Linked DNA regions of Homo sapiens: all the other regions are linked to region 1. The links are contacts of gene promoters, found by promoter capture Hi-C in human tissues and cell types (Jung and others, 2019). All regions are on one chromosome and are shown on one strand. Each heading gives the region's core, a stretch centred on a gene start or on the middle of the fragment in contact. The rest is flanking DNA. Distances are from core to core; before and after follow the strand shown.

Evidence for each region. Contacts are between HindIII fragments. The study calls those that stand out against the background at their distance.
Region 2: a fragment that was not itself captured here is called in contact with the fragment with the promoter of NFE2L3 in region 1 in 1 of the 25 tissues and cell types used here (H1 embryonic stem cells).
Region 3: a fragment that was not itself captured here is called in contact with the fragment with the promoter of NFE2L3 in region 1 in 1 of the 25 tissues and cell types used here (mesendoderm cells).

What each region holds. Positions count from the first base shown.
Region 1 is chr7:26,150,142-26,154,647 of GRCh38, forward strand. NFE2L3 (NFE2 like bZIP transcription factor 3) reads left to right here and starts at 2,057. Exons shown (of 4, transcript NM_004289.7): 1 at 2,057-2,927. The coding sequence starts at 2,358. RefSeq lists silencers at 1,846-2,225, 2,246-2,315, 2,326-2,395, 2,506-2,755, 2,766-2,835 and enhancers at 2,017-2,811, 2,812-3,605, 2,956-3,145. The HindIII fragment of the contact is 11,508 bases long and covers 1-4,506 here.
Region 2 is chr7:25,963,114-25,967,063 of GRCh38, forward strand. The region is part of intron 6 of LOC105375199 (a long non-coding RNA gene); the gene reads right to left. Among named protein-coding and RNA genes, the nearest start is that of MIR148A, 15 kb to the left of the region's middle. RefSeq lists an enhancer at 1,522-1,661. The HindIII fragment of the contact is 3,702 bases long and covers 144-3,845 here.
Region 3 is chr7:25,917,005-25,921,225 of GRCh38, forward strand. No RefSeq gene overlaps it. Among named protein-coding and RNA genes, the nearest start is that of MIR148A, 31 kb to the right of the region's middle. The HindIII fragment of the contact is 5,057 bases long and covers 1-4,125 here.

The DNA.
Region 1 (4,506 bases), core at 807-3,306:
AGTCAAGGGTATGTAGGATTGTCTCCTGGTTAACACTTTCCTGCAAGGTCTTTTAGGTACCCTTGTTCTTCCCACCAGTCAAGAGCCAGAGTTAAGCCATGCTTTTGAAGTGTATAGTCTGAAAGATATTTAACACTATGATTACCAATTCACATTGTAAAATGGTGAGGGGTTAGCCCACTTCCCAACAAATGTTAGAAGTTTGTATGTGCTTCCTGTTCCCAGTCTATTCAGATTTCTCAAAATACATCTCAAGTGTAACCTCCTCAATTCAACTAATATTTTTTTTGAGCATCAACTGTGTGTAAGATTCTGGAGGGCACCGCCTTGAAGAAGGCACCGCCTCTACTCTCAATAGTTTTAGAGCTCCCTATATAAACCTTGAAGTAATTTACATCTAAGTATTTTGGCAATTGAGTACATTATTTCTCTTGTTTCTTAGTGTCTCACAAATTTTTATCTCATCTCCCTAGTAAAACCATAAGCTTACGGAAGGAAAGAACTCCGTTTCATATCCTTCATGCCTCCAGCACAGCCTCAGGCAGTTAGTAGGTTCTCAGTAAAAAGCTGAAGGCAGCATTTACTAAGCTGAGACTCTAAATCCGCTGTTCAAAGACTAAATGCTGTGAACGGGGTCTTGATAACCTGGCAATCACCTTTCTTCATCCTCTTTGCCACCCCAACCCATCTTCCAAGGCTTAACACAGAGGAAGCAACTTTCCTCTGCTCCCCTGTTTCTGCTCCCCTGGTCCCCATTCTTTTCTCTTCTTACTACACTAGCCCAGGAGAGAGATGAGAAAGCCAGGTGGAGGGAGGGGCCTTTTAAAACAAGTCTTGCTCAACTTTTTACACAACTGCCCATTCTCAGTTGGGCATCCCCTCCTGTCCCCTTTTCTTCCAAGGAAGGGAGCTAAGGTTAGTAAAACCTACCCTTGCAAGGCCCAGTGCTGGGTACTGTGCATGGACAAAGGTGAACCAAACAGGTTCCTTGTCCTCAAGAATTTACAATGGGCAAATCAGACCGATTCTCATCTACAACACAGAGTTGAATGGGCCAACTGTTACAATGTTGGCAAACGGAGAAATCACGGTGCAACAGATGGGGGAGAGATTAATGCCAACTGGTGAAAATTCAGAGGATGTAGCTTTGGAGCTAAGCCTTGAGGGTGAGTAACACAAACAATGGGTAGCAGGGAGCACTTCCTACCCATGCAGTGCTGTGGTCGGTGGTTTACATGCATTATCTCATTTGGGGCTCACAAAAGGTCTGCTGGGGAGGTGCTATTATTAGTCTCATTTTACAGTGAGAAAACTGAGGCACAGAGAAAAGGAGAGATTTGTCCAAGGTCGCCCCTCAAGTGGAGGGGGGACTTGAACTCACTCAGGGTAACTGTAGAGCTGGTGCTGTCAACCCTCAAGGAAACAACGGATAAGGAGCAAAGGATACCGAGAGGAGGTCTAGCACTATGCAGAGCACGCCCAGAGAAGAGAGAGGGGTCTGTGAGGCTGGGACTGGGGTGTGCGGAGTGGTGGGATGACTGATCCCAATGGCAACGGTGGAATTTATATGTGAAACTCCGAACTTTACACGAAATATTTCATCTGACCTCAACACATCCCTGTTTGACAGGCTCTATGATCCCCATTTTACAGATAGCGGAACTGAGACAGAGAGGTTACTCTTGCCCACTCTGCCCGCCAAGTGTCCTCACGTTGGGGTGGAAGCCCGTTGCAAGCTGCCAGGCCCCTCGTAGCTGCCCAGTCACTCTCCGCCCAGTCTACACATCCTGTCCCTTCCCACCCAGCTACCCACCACCTAGCCCTCCACCCCAACTCCCGCCCTTGGCTTTCAGCAAGGATGGCCCAGCTCACGGCCACAGGGTGGCAAGGGGCCACTTGGTGCCCAGAACAACTTCTGCTCCCAGAAAGCCTTGCGTTCCCCGGACATAAAGAGGCTTTGAGCTCGGGGAGCCCCGCCCCGTGCGGCCCCTCCCACGGGCGCGGGCCCCGGGCGGCAGGGGGCGTGTTCCTGTCGGCTGCGCCCGCGGCCGGGGGCGGAGCTTGGCCACCGCGCCGGGCTGCGGGCGGCTGGGCGAACGGGCTCGGCGCTCAGGTGGCTCCTTCTTCGCTTCTCCCGATCCCCGGCGGTGCCAGGCACGGTGCCGGCTGCCGAGGGAACGCCTTTGTGCCCGGTGCTGGGAACCCGCGACGGCCGCCACGCGCCCCGGTCCATTGTTTCGCTTATCTGGGTTCCAGGCAGGTGCGGGCGGCGCGCGGGGTCCGCACGTGTCACCCCGGCGGCTGGGGCGCCGGGACCCGCGGGCGCCGGCAGGGGCGTTCCCGGGCGCGCGGCGGCGATGAAGCACCTGAAGCGGTGGTGGTCGGCCGGCGGCGGCCTCCTGCACCTCACCCTCCTGCTGAGCTTGGCGGGGCTCCGCGTAGACCTAGATCTTTACCTGCTGCTGCCGCCGCCCACCCTGCTGCAGGACGAGCTGCTGTTCCTGGGCGGCCCGGCCAGCTCCGCCTACGCGCTCAGCCCCTTCTCGGCCTCGGGAGGGTGGGGGCGCGCGGGCCACTTGCACCCCAAGGGCCGGGAGCTGGACCCTGCCGCGCCGCCCGAGGGCCAGCTGCTCCGGGAGGTGCGCGCGCTCGGGGTCCCCTTCGTCCCTCGCACCAGCGTGGATGCATGGCTGGTGCACAGCGTGGCTGCCGGGAGCGCGGACGAGGCCCACGGGCTGCTCGGCGCCGCCGCCGCCTCGTCCACCGGAGGAGCCGGCGCCAGCGTGGACGGCGGCAGCCAGGCTGTGCAGGGGGGCGGCGGGGACCCCCGAGCGGCTCGGAGTGGCCCCTTGGACGCCGGGGAAGAGGAGAAGGCACCCGCGGAACCGACGGCTCAGGTGCCGGACGCTGGCGGATGTGCGAGCGAGGTAGGTGCAGAGCGGGAAGCGAGCGAAGTGCGGCGTCTACGCCGCCGGGAGCCCCCGAGGCTTGTGTCGGATCTGAGCAGGGGCCACTCTCGCTGTGTCCTGGCACCCTTAGCCCCTGGTCTTTGCAGGTTCGCAGATGCTGCTGCTCTGATTCCGAATGAAGGGCTACTAGTGCTGTCGCTGTGGTTTTTAGGTGTTTAAGGAAGAAGTGGACGAAATCATCCGTTTGGTTATAGAGAATACCTTTCCTTGTGTGTGATGGCTGGCAAGAGTAGTTCGGGGATGGGGAGGGGAGAAGCAATGCCCACTGTCTTCGCTCAGTACCTCATGTACACTGGGGTGTCGTTCTCTGGGACCCGTGCCCGACCTGGACGATGTGAAGGAGGCCGTGACCTCTGGGAGGATGCATGTTTTTAAGAACGACTCTCCCGGCCTAACGCAAGGACCTTCGCCCTGTTTTCAGCCCAATTGCTGTTCGTTTTTGCTGCTTCCCTGGATTAAGGAGCCATGGTCAGGGTCTATTCAGAGGCCAGCCGGCAGGCGGTCCCCCTGTGACCTAACCATCCCCTGCACCTAGCAATCCTCCTTCCTGGAATTTGTGTAACCTCTTATTAGCATAACGAAAACAGGTACCTTGGCAGTCACTTAGTGACTAACAAGTTCCCTTTGGTTTATGGGTCCAAACCCTTCTCTGGCTTAACTTCTTTCTGAAACCAAGTTTACCAAGATCTGTTGCTTGAAACATCTGGTGCTCCCCATGGAACGTTTGAGTTCAGTCTAATGACACTTTAACACCAGTTTCCACAAAACCACTTTACCCAAAGTTCCTTCCAGGGGACTTTTAAAATTCTGTCTTGGCTCAAACTTTAGTGTTTGCAACTGGTAACGATCAACCAGTGGTGATCAACTAATGTTCTTCGGGTGTTGTTTTTGTGGGGCGCATTCTTATGCAAAATGGGAATTGGGGCTAAACTGGTTTGTTTGTTGCTCTTCAGAATTGCCGTTTGTGTAGGCTGTTGCCAGACAAGCTTCTCCACCCTCCTGGAGGGGTCATTGTGTGGAAGTGCTCGGTGATTCACTGTTATGCTGATCTGAGCCCTTCCTCTTCCTGGGGACCGGAACCAATGGGGTGGGGGCCAGTGAGAGTCTTGGAGGGATCCTTCTGTGTTCAGGATATACTGTGGGAGGTTCTTCCCCACTCACTCATCCAATCTGGACCCCATGGGGTCTGTCTCACCTAAATGCTCTGCCCTCTAATAAGTGAGTACTTGTGCACTACCACCATTCCTGGTTCTGTAACACAGAGTTGAAACCTAGTGCTGGATGCTGTACCAGATGGCACTCTGCCACCCACACCCGAATGCCAACCTGTGTGCAAAGTGCACAGGGACCTGGAGGGAGAAGAGAGGAAGCTGTTCAGTCCTCGGAAACTTCCCTCCCGGCATCACCTGGGAGACAAAGTGGCCTTCCCTTGGCTGTTTTTTTGTTTGTTTTGTTTTAAAGACAGGGTCTTGCTCTGTTGCCCAGGCTGGAGTGCAAAGGTGCAATGACGACTCACTGCAGCCTCAACCTCCCCGGC
Region 2 (3,950 bases), core at 745-3,244, 190 kb before region 1:
TGGAGCTACACAGACTCCTCCGCTCCTACTTTCTCAACCATGCTCTGAGCACTTTGATGGTAGTTACTGATGCGTATGGCTAGGAGTGCTCATTTCAGGAAGTCTTGGATTTTCAGCCTGAATGGACCCTAAAGATCATCTATTTCAGTGTTTTCAAACTCTTTTATTATACCCCATAGTAGAAAAAACATTTCACATTGCAACCCTATGTACACATAAACATATAAACAGAGATTTAACGGAAATGACAACTTTTGGCAACAATAATATGTCATATGACATGTAATGCGTTCCAACATTTTCTTTTCTTTTCTTTATTTTTATTTATTATTATTACTATTATTATTTTGAGAAGAGTCTCACTCTGTCGCCCAGGCTGGAGTGCTGTGATGTGATCTTGGCTCACTGCAGCCTCAGCCTCCCGGGTTCAAGCAATTCTCCTGCCTTAGCCTCCCGAGTAGCTGGGACTACAGGTGTGCACTGCCACGCCCGGCTAATTTTTGTATTTTTAGTAGAGACGGGATTTCACTATGTTGGCCAGGATAGTCTTGATCTCCTAACCTTGTGATCCGCCCACCTCGGTCTCCCAAAGTGTTGGGATTACAGGCATAAGCCACCGCGCCCAGCCTCTTTTTTTTTTTTTTTTTTTTTTTTTTTTTTAATTTTTAATGCTGATCAAACTCACTAAATTGGTTTCATGATTCACTAGTGGATTGAGGCCTACAGTTTGAGACTTACTGATCTATTTTAATCCTCATGTGTTATAGAGCAGGAAACCAAAGCCAAGAAGGTTAAGTGATCCGGCCAAGGTCACACACACAGTTACTGCCCGGTGGCAGAGCCAAGACTAAAACTCTGGTAGCAAAATCATCTAACTTAGCTAATTATTAATAATAAACACTCTTCTTGCAAAATGCTGTGCTAGTACTGTGAACAGTGCATGCTGTTACAAAAACATAGTTTTTTTTAATGGTAGAAAGTTAAAGTCTTTCAAATTAGAATTAAATAGAATGTCATTCCCCAAATCCCCGTATACATATTTTCAGTTTCAAATTCCAGTGTCTAGAGGGCTAAGTCCATATATATGTGTATATGTATATGTGTGTATGTGTGTGGATATGTATATATGTTTGTTTTAAATTACATCTGTAATTTGGCTCTAATGTGCAGGCTCATGTAAACTTCTCTTTACTGATGTTTCCAATGCAATAGAAAAAAAACCTGAGCAACCAGTCCTTCCAAAGATCTTTAGTTAAGCCTTCATGGTCAAAGAAGGGCAGTGAGCAGCTCTGGGATTCAAAGGGGCCTCTCAGTTACACAAGAGGGGACTCCACTGAGGTATGAATAAGAAGTGGGATGCATCGGACAGAAAAAGCCAAGTAGCAATAGTGTGAGGCTAGAACGTCCTCTGCAAACCTCAACCACATCACAGCCCATCATTCTTGGATGTCTCCCCATCAAATAACTACACCCATAGCAACTACAGTTGACTACAGTTGACTCTGACCTCACCACCCCTGTAAGAGTAATAATTCCAGTAAGAGAAGTTCGTCTTTAAAAATATAGCCCTAAATCTCGGCAACCAGCATACTTTCTTTCAATAAAAGCATGGGTGCTTTCCTGTTCCACCTATTTTTATCCTGTAGAAAAAAAAAAGTCCCTTCCAGCCAATGCAAATACTCTCTCACTCTCTGCCTCACCAGCAGCAAGGCGGGTTGCAAACCTGCACAGGATATAGAACTGAGGAGGCAGTGTGCCTGATTTTGCTGTCGTGTTATTCTTTTCATTGATATGGTACCTTTCCAGCGGTTCACATGTCAGCTGATGAAAGCAGCTGTGACCTTTTACAACAATTGGCCTCTGTCTTTACATTGGCTGTCTTTGCTTTACTGGGATTCATGAAGATCACCTTGGGGGCATCTTTCAACCCATTCCTGTGAAATGGCAACCGAACAGAAAATGGCACAAAGGGAAAGAGACAACATTTGTGGATACACTGAGGGATAGATATTGGTACTTTTAGTTTGTGAATGTAAAAATGTCACAGGTCATTTCTGAGCATATTCCAGCTGGAGGCAAGAAATGCTTTGGGGTAAACATATGAACCACATGTGCAGAAGCACTGAAAATTAGGTATAAAAGTCATATATGCAAAATTGCCACAAAACTTCCTGCTGTGATCATTTGGAAATCACCTTGGAGTATAGGTTTCTGGCTCATTTTCCAAGCTATGCAATTCCTTTCCAGAAACCCCTAGGCAGCACTGCCTCCCTCCCCTAGGTCCACCCTACCTCAGCAAAGCACAGTGAATGTCCTAATTCCTGGGACAGCTCCTTTTGGGGAAATAGGAAGAATAGATCAGAGGGTTTGATTATAAGCTTTAAAAATCAATTTTAAAAATTGATATAGTTCTGTGCTTTCTGAAGACGGATATCTTAAATAGTGCCTAACTATGTTTGTTTTGGCAGATACGTGGGTGACTCTCGCATTGGCAGACATCCATATCCGTATTTATGGCAAATATGTCAGCATTTAATCCATCCCAGTGTCTGTGAAGGAATCAACAATTACAAGTTATCGTCTCTCTCTTATTATATTGTTTTACTTCTTTTCAAAGACTGACACAGAAATTGCCATGAAATGGAGAATAATCAATCCTCAGTAGAAAATAGAATACCAAATCTTACAGCTCGGTAGATGGCTGGTCTATGTAATCTTTGTTTCATTTCTCAGCTCCTCTTTGAGTGACTCAGTGTAGCACCCCACAATTCAATATTAGCAAGGAGGTGTCATTTCACAGGAATGACTGCTATCATTGGGAGGGAAGGTCCATAAACTAGATTTCCTACTGATGACATCAGCAATTCTGTGACATTTAAAGAAAAAGAATTGAGTACCATTTCCAAAAGGGATGAGTACCTTTGAAGAAATAATATTACCCTTATTTTAACTTCCATGCTTCAGTTCATCCCTAACAGATAGGTGCACTGAGGAACCTGTATCTGTAATGTGAACAATATACCTCCTTTAATATCAGTCCCAGGTGAAATTAAACCAATCAGGAAGCGCATGACAATATCTCTGATATTAAGAGTCAAATGGTGTCTCAAAAACAACAATCTTTTGTGATTGTTGTTATTCCAGCGAATTGGCAATTTACAAATAGGTTGTGTCCAAAAAAAATTCACTAATATATTTGGAATATAGAGTGTCAAGTACAAGTTCCCATGTATGCAGTATTACAAATGGTATTCCCAAACCAGCCCATAGACACCCATTTCATTTATATCTTGCTGATGGTGTTGGAGAAGACAAAGAAATATGCAGGATTCAAAAGGTAGAGTTGGCTTTGGAAAGACAATCTGTGGCACAAGATCCCAAAACAATCTCCTTATAATTTCTACCACTTCCAGAAAGAAGGAAGGAAGGAGGAAAGAAAGGAGGAAGGGAGGGAGGGAGAGAGGGGAGCAAGAAGGGAAGGAGGGAAGGAGGCAAGAGAGGGAGGAAGGGAGGAAGGAAGGAAAAAAGAAAGAAAGGGAAGGAAGGGGGAGTGAGGGAGAGAGGGAAGGAGGATAGGAAGGATGGAGGAAGGAGAGAAGAACAAAGGGAAGAGTGGGAGGGAGGGAAGAGAGGGAGGGAAGAAGGAAGGAACAGAAGGAAGAAGAAAGGGATGGAGGTAGGTTGAGAAGGAGGAAAGAAAGACAAGAAGTCTCTAAGATGACCTCCAATTATCAACACCTCCTGGTATTCATACCCTTGTGTAGTGTCTTCTTGAATATGGGCTGGCCTTATTATTAACTTCACTTGTAGCAAATAGAATACAGAAAAAGAGATCAGATGCCACTTCCAAGATTGGGCTATAAAAAGGCAGTGGTTTCTGTCTCGGGCTTTCTCTCCCCTTCTCCCTTTCTATAACCGCTTGCCTTGGTGGAAGCTAGCTGCCACATCAC
Region 3 (4,221 bases), core at 347-2,846, 230 kb before region 1:
TAGAAATATATTTAGGTAATTCAATACCATATACCCAAAATGTTATGTAAACACAGAATCAATAAAAAAATTATTGAGATATTTTACATTCCTTTTTTCATACTAAGTCTTCAAAATTTAGTTGTGTTGTTTATACTTACAGAACACCTCAATTTGGAATAGGCACATTTCAAGTCCTTGATAACCACATACGGCCATAACTGACAGTGTAGGACTTTAATTCTATGTTTTAGAGTGAGGAAAAGAGCATTCTTTCTTTTCCCCCTCTTTTTTTAAGCTATGAATGAGGAAGCATATTGCCCCATGGCTGCTTACAGCCATCTTATGACCATGAAGTGATCCAGACTGGATCCTGGGTCCTTGATCACATAACTAAGCTTTGCTACTCCAGAGTCTGCCTGCCTCTGAACTCCCAGTGATAAGACATGATTCATTTCTCTATAGTTTAAGCCATTTTGAGTCTGATTTTCTGTTAAACGCATCAGAAAATGTGCTAATCTACATACCCCTCCCATCCGTATTGTAGCCACAAAGAAGTATTTCCAGCCCTTGTGATGAGTTTTCTTGTTATATCAAATAAGTAGACACCAGCCAAACACGTTTCTCACCCAGGCTACAAATTGAGAGAACCAGTGAAACTCTAAGTCTCCTATTTCCTTGAACAGTTACTACTGTCTTCACCTTTGTTTGAATCCTATGGCAGTGGATCTACTCTTAATGAAGTTAAGGCAGTACTTTATATTAGATATTTTAGAAGCAAAAGAGTAGACTGATTTCCTTTAAGTACTGTGTTTCAAACAAAATGATTAGGTCTTGGATATAGACCTAATCACAATGAAACAAAATTATTTGAGTCCAAAATACAATCAGTTAGTGAAAACTTGATGTGGTTATATAAACAGGAAAAGCCTCTCCAAAATCTCAGACGTGGGAAATGCATGGAACTCTGAAACTGAAATATGAGCAGTAGGCAAGTATCTAATGAGGGTCCCTTACCTGGGGTGGAATGTTGCCAACTGCTCACTGATTCTTCCTGTAAAGTTACCAGGATAAATGCATGTAGATGGCCCTATTTAGAAAGCTCTAAAGCACTTACATTAAAAACGAGGAAAGATCTCAAATCAACAACCCAAATTTGCACCCTAAGGAACTAGATAAAGGACTAACCTCAAAGTTAGCAGAAGGAAGATAATAATAAAGATTAGAGCAGAGATAAACAAAATAAAGAATAGAAAGCCAGTATAGAAAATCAACAAAACCAAGAGTTGGTGCTTTGAAAAATTCAACAAAATTGACAAAGCTTTAGCTAGATTGACTAAGAAAAAAAGGAAGTAATATTCATAACCAAAATCAGAAATGAAAGAGGGAACATTATAACTGATTTTACAGATATCAAAAGAATTATAAGAGAGTACTACAAACAATTGTGCAGCAACAAATTGGATAACTTATACGAAACGAATAAATTCCCAGAAGTACACAACTTATTGTACTGAATCAGGAAGGAACAGAAAATCTCTGTTTCTGAATCATGAAGAAACAGAAAATCTCAATAAACCCATAACTACTAAGGCAATTGAATCAGTAATGAAAAACCTCCCAACAAAGAAAAGCCTAGGCCCAGATGGCTTCACTGAGGAATTTCTACCAAATATTTAAAAAAGAAGTAACACCGGTCATTCTAAACTCTTCCAAAAAAATTGAATAGGGGAGAAAACATCCAAACTCATTCTATGAGGCCAGTATTACCTTGATACCAAAGCTAAACAAAGACACTCCAAAAAAAAACAAAAAACAAAAACAAAAAAAACTGCAAACCATTACCCCTAATAAACATTGGTACAAACAAATCTTCAACAAAATACCAGCAAAAAGAATTCAATAGCACATAAAAGGATTATACTAACATGGCTATATGGGATTTATTCCTGCAATGCAAGGATGGCTCAATGTATAAAAGTCAATCAATATAATATATCGCATTAACAGAATAAAGTAAAAAAAAAAAAACCTCATTATCTCAATTGATGCAGTAAAAGCATTTGACACATTTCAACACTTTTTAATGATAGAAACAGTCAACCAACTACAAATAAAAAATAACTACCTCAACATAATAAAAACCACATATGAAAATCGCATAGCTAAAATTGTACTCAATGGTGAAAGACTGAAGCTCTTTCTCTAAGATCAGAAAGAAGACAAGGATGCCCACTATTGTCACTTCTATTCTATACTGGAAGTCTTAGCCAGAGAAATTAGGCAAGAAAAAATATATAAATAAAAAGCATCTAAATTAGAAAGGAAGAAGTGAAGTTATCTCTGTTTATAGATGACATAATCTGATATTTAGAAAACCCTAAAGATTCCACCAAAAGAGTCAGTTAGAAAAGTGAAGTTTTAGGATACAAAATCAATGAACAAAACTCAGCTAGATTTCTATACACTAACAATGAACAATTAGAAAAGGAAATTAAGAAAATAATTCCATTTATGATAGTATCAAAAATAATAAAATACTTAGGAATAAGCTTATCCAAGGAGGCAAAATACTTGTACACTGAAAACTACAAAACATTGCTGAAAGAAGACACCAATGAATGGAAAGGCATCCTGTGTTCACAGATCAGAAGAGTTAACACTATTAAGATATCAGTACTATTAAAAGTAATCTATAGATTCAATACAATCCCTATCAAAATCCTAATGACATTTTTTTTAGAAATAGAAAAATCCCTCCTAAAATTTATATGGAATTTCAAGGGACACCAAATAGCCAAAACAATTTTGAAAATGAAGAACAAAGTTGGAGTTCTCACACTTCCTGATTTCAAAACGTAATACACACCTATAGTAATAACAACTATATTATGAGTGAGGTATTGGTATAATGACAGACATATAGACCAATGGAATAAGATAAACGGCCCAAAAATAAACCTTCACATATATAGTTGAATGATTTTTGACAAGAGCCCCAAGATCATTCAATGGGAAAAGGGAAGTCTTTTCAACAAACAGTGTTGGTAAAACTGTATACTCACATGCAAAAGAATGAAGTTGGACTCTTACCTTATACCATGAACAAAAATTAACTAAAAATGGATCAAAGACCTAAATGTAAGAACTAAAACTATAAAACTCTTAGAATAAAACACAGGGAAGAAGCATGATGACATTGGATTTATCAATGATTTCTTGAATATGATGCAAAAAACACAGGCAAAAAAAAGAAAATAATAGAAAAATCAAACTCCATCAAATTAAAAAACTTCTGTGTATTAAATGATAGAATCAAAAGAGTGAAAAGACACCACAGGAAATGGGGAAAAAATATTTGCAAATCATGCATCTGATAAAGGGCTAATATTCTGAATACATAAAGAACTCCTACAACTCACAACTCAACAACAAGAAGCCCAACAACCTCATTTAAAAATGAGTGAAGGACTTGAATAGATATTTCTCCAAAGAAGATATAAAAATGGCCAATAAACAATGAAAAGATGCTCAACATCACTAATTGCTAGTGATGTTTGTGTCTTCCCAAAACTCATACATTAAAATTTGAATCCCCAAGGTAATTATATTAGGAGGTGGGCCTTTTGGGGGAGCCGATTAGGTCATGAAGGCAGAGCCCTAATGAATAAAATCAGTGCCCCTTATAAAATAGGCCCAAGGCAGCTCTTAAATCCCTCCCATCATGTGAGGACACAGTGAAAGGCACTGTCTATGAGAAAGTGTGCCTTCATCAGATACCAAACATGGCTGCTTGATCTTGGACTTCCAAGCCTCCAGAACTGTGAGAAACAAATTTCTCTTGGTTATAAGCTACCCAGTGTACAGTATTATGTTATAGTAGCCCAAATGGACTAAGACACAAATCATTAGGAAATATGCAAATCAAAACCAAAAGAAAATGCCACCTCACACCCATTCAAGTGGCTACTATCAAAAAACCAGAAAATAACAAGTGGCAAAAATATGGAGAAATTGGAACCCTTGTGCACTGTTGGTGGGAATGTAAAATGATGCAGCCACTAGGGAACATTATGGTAGTTCCTCAAAAAATTAAAAATAGAATTGCCATATAACCCAGCAATTCCAAATCTGGTTATACACCCAAAAGAATTGAAAGCTGGGACTTGAAGAGATATTTGTATACCCATGTTCATAGCAGCATTATTCACAATAGCCAAAGGGTGAAAGCAACCTATGTTC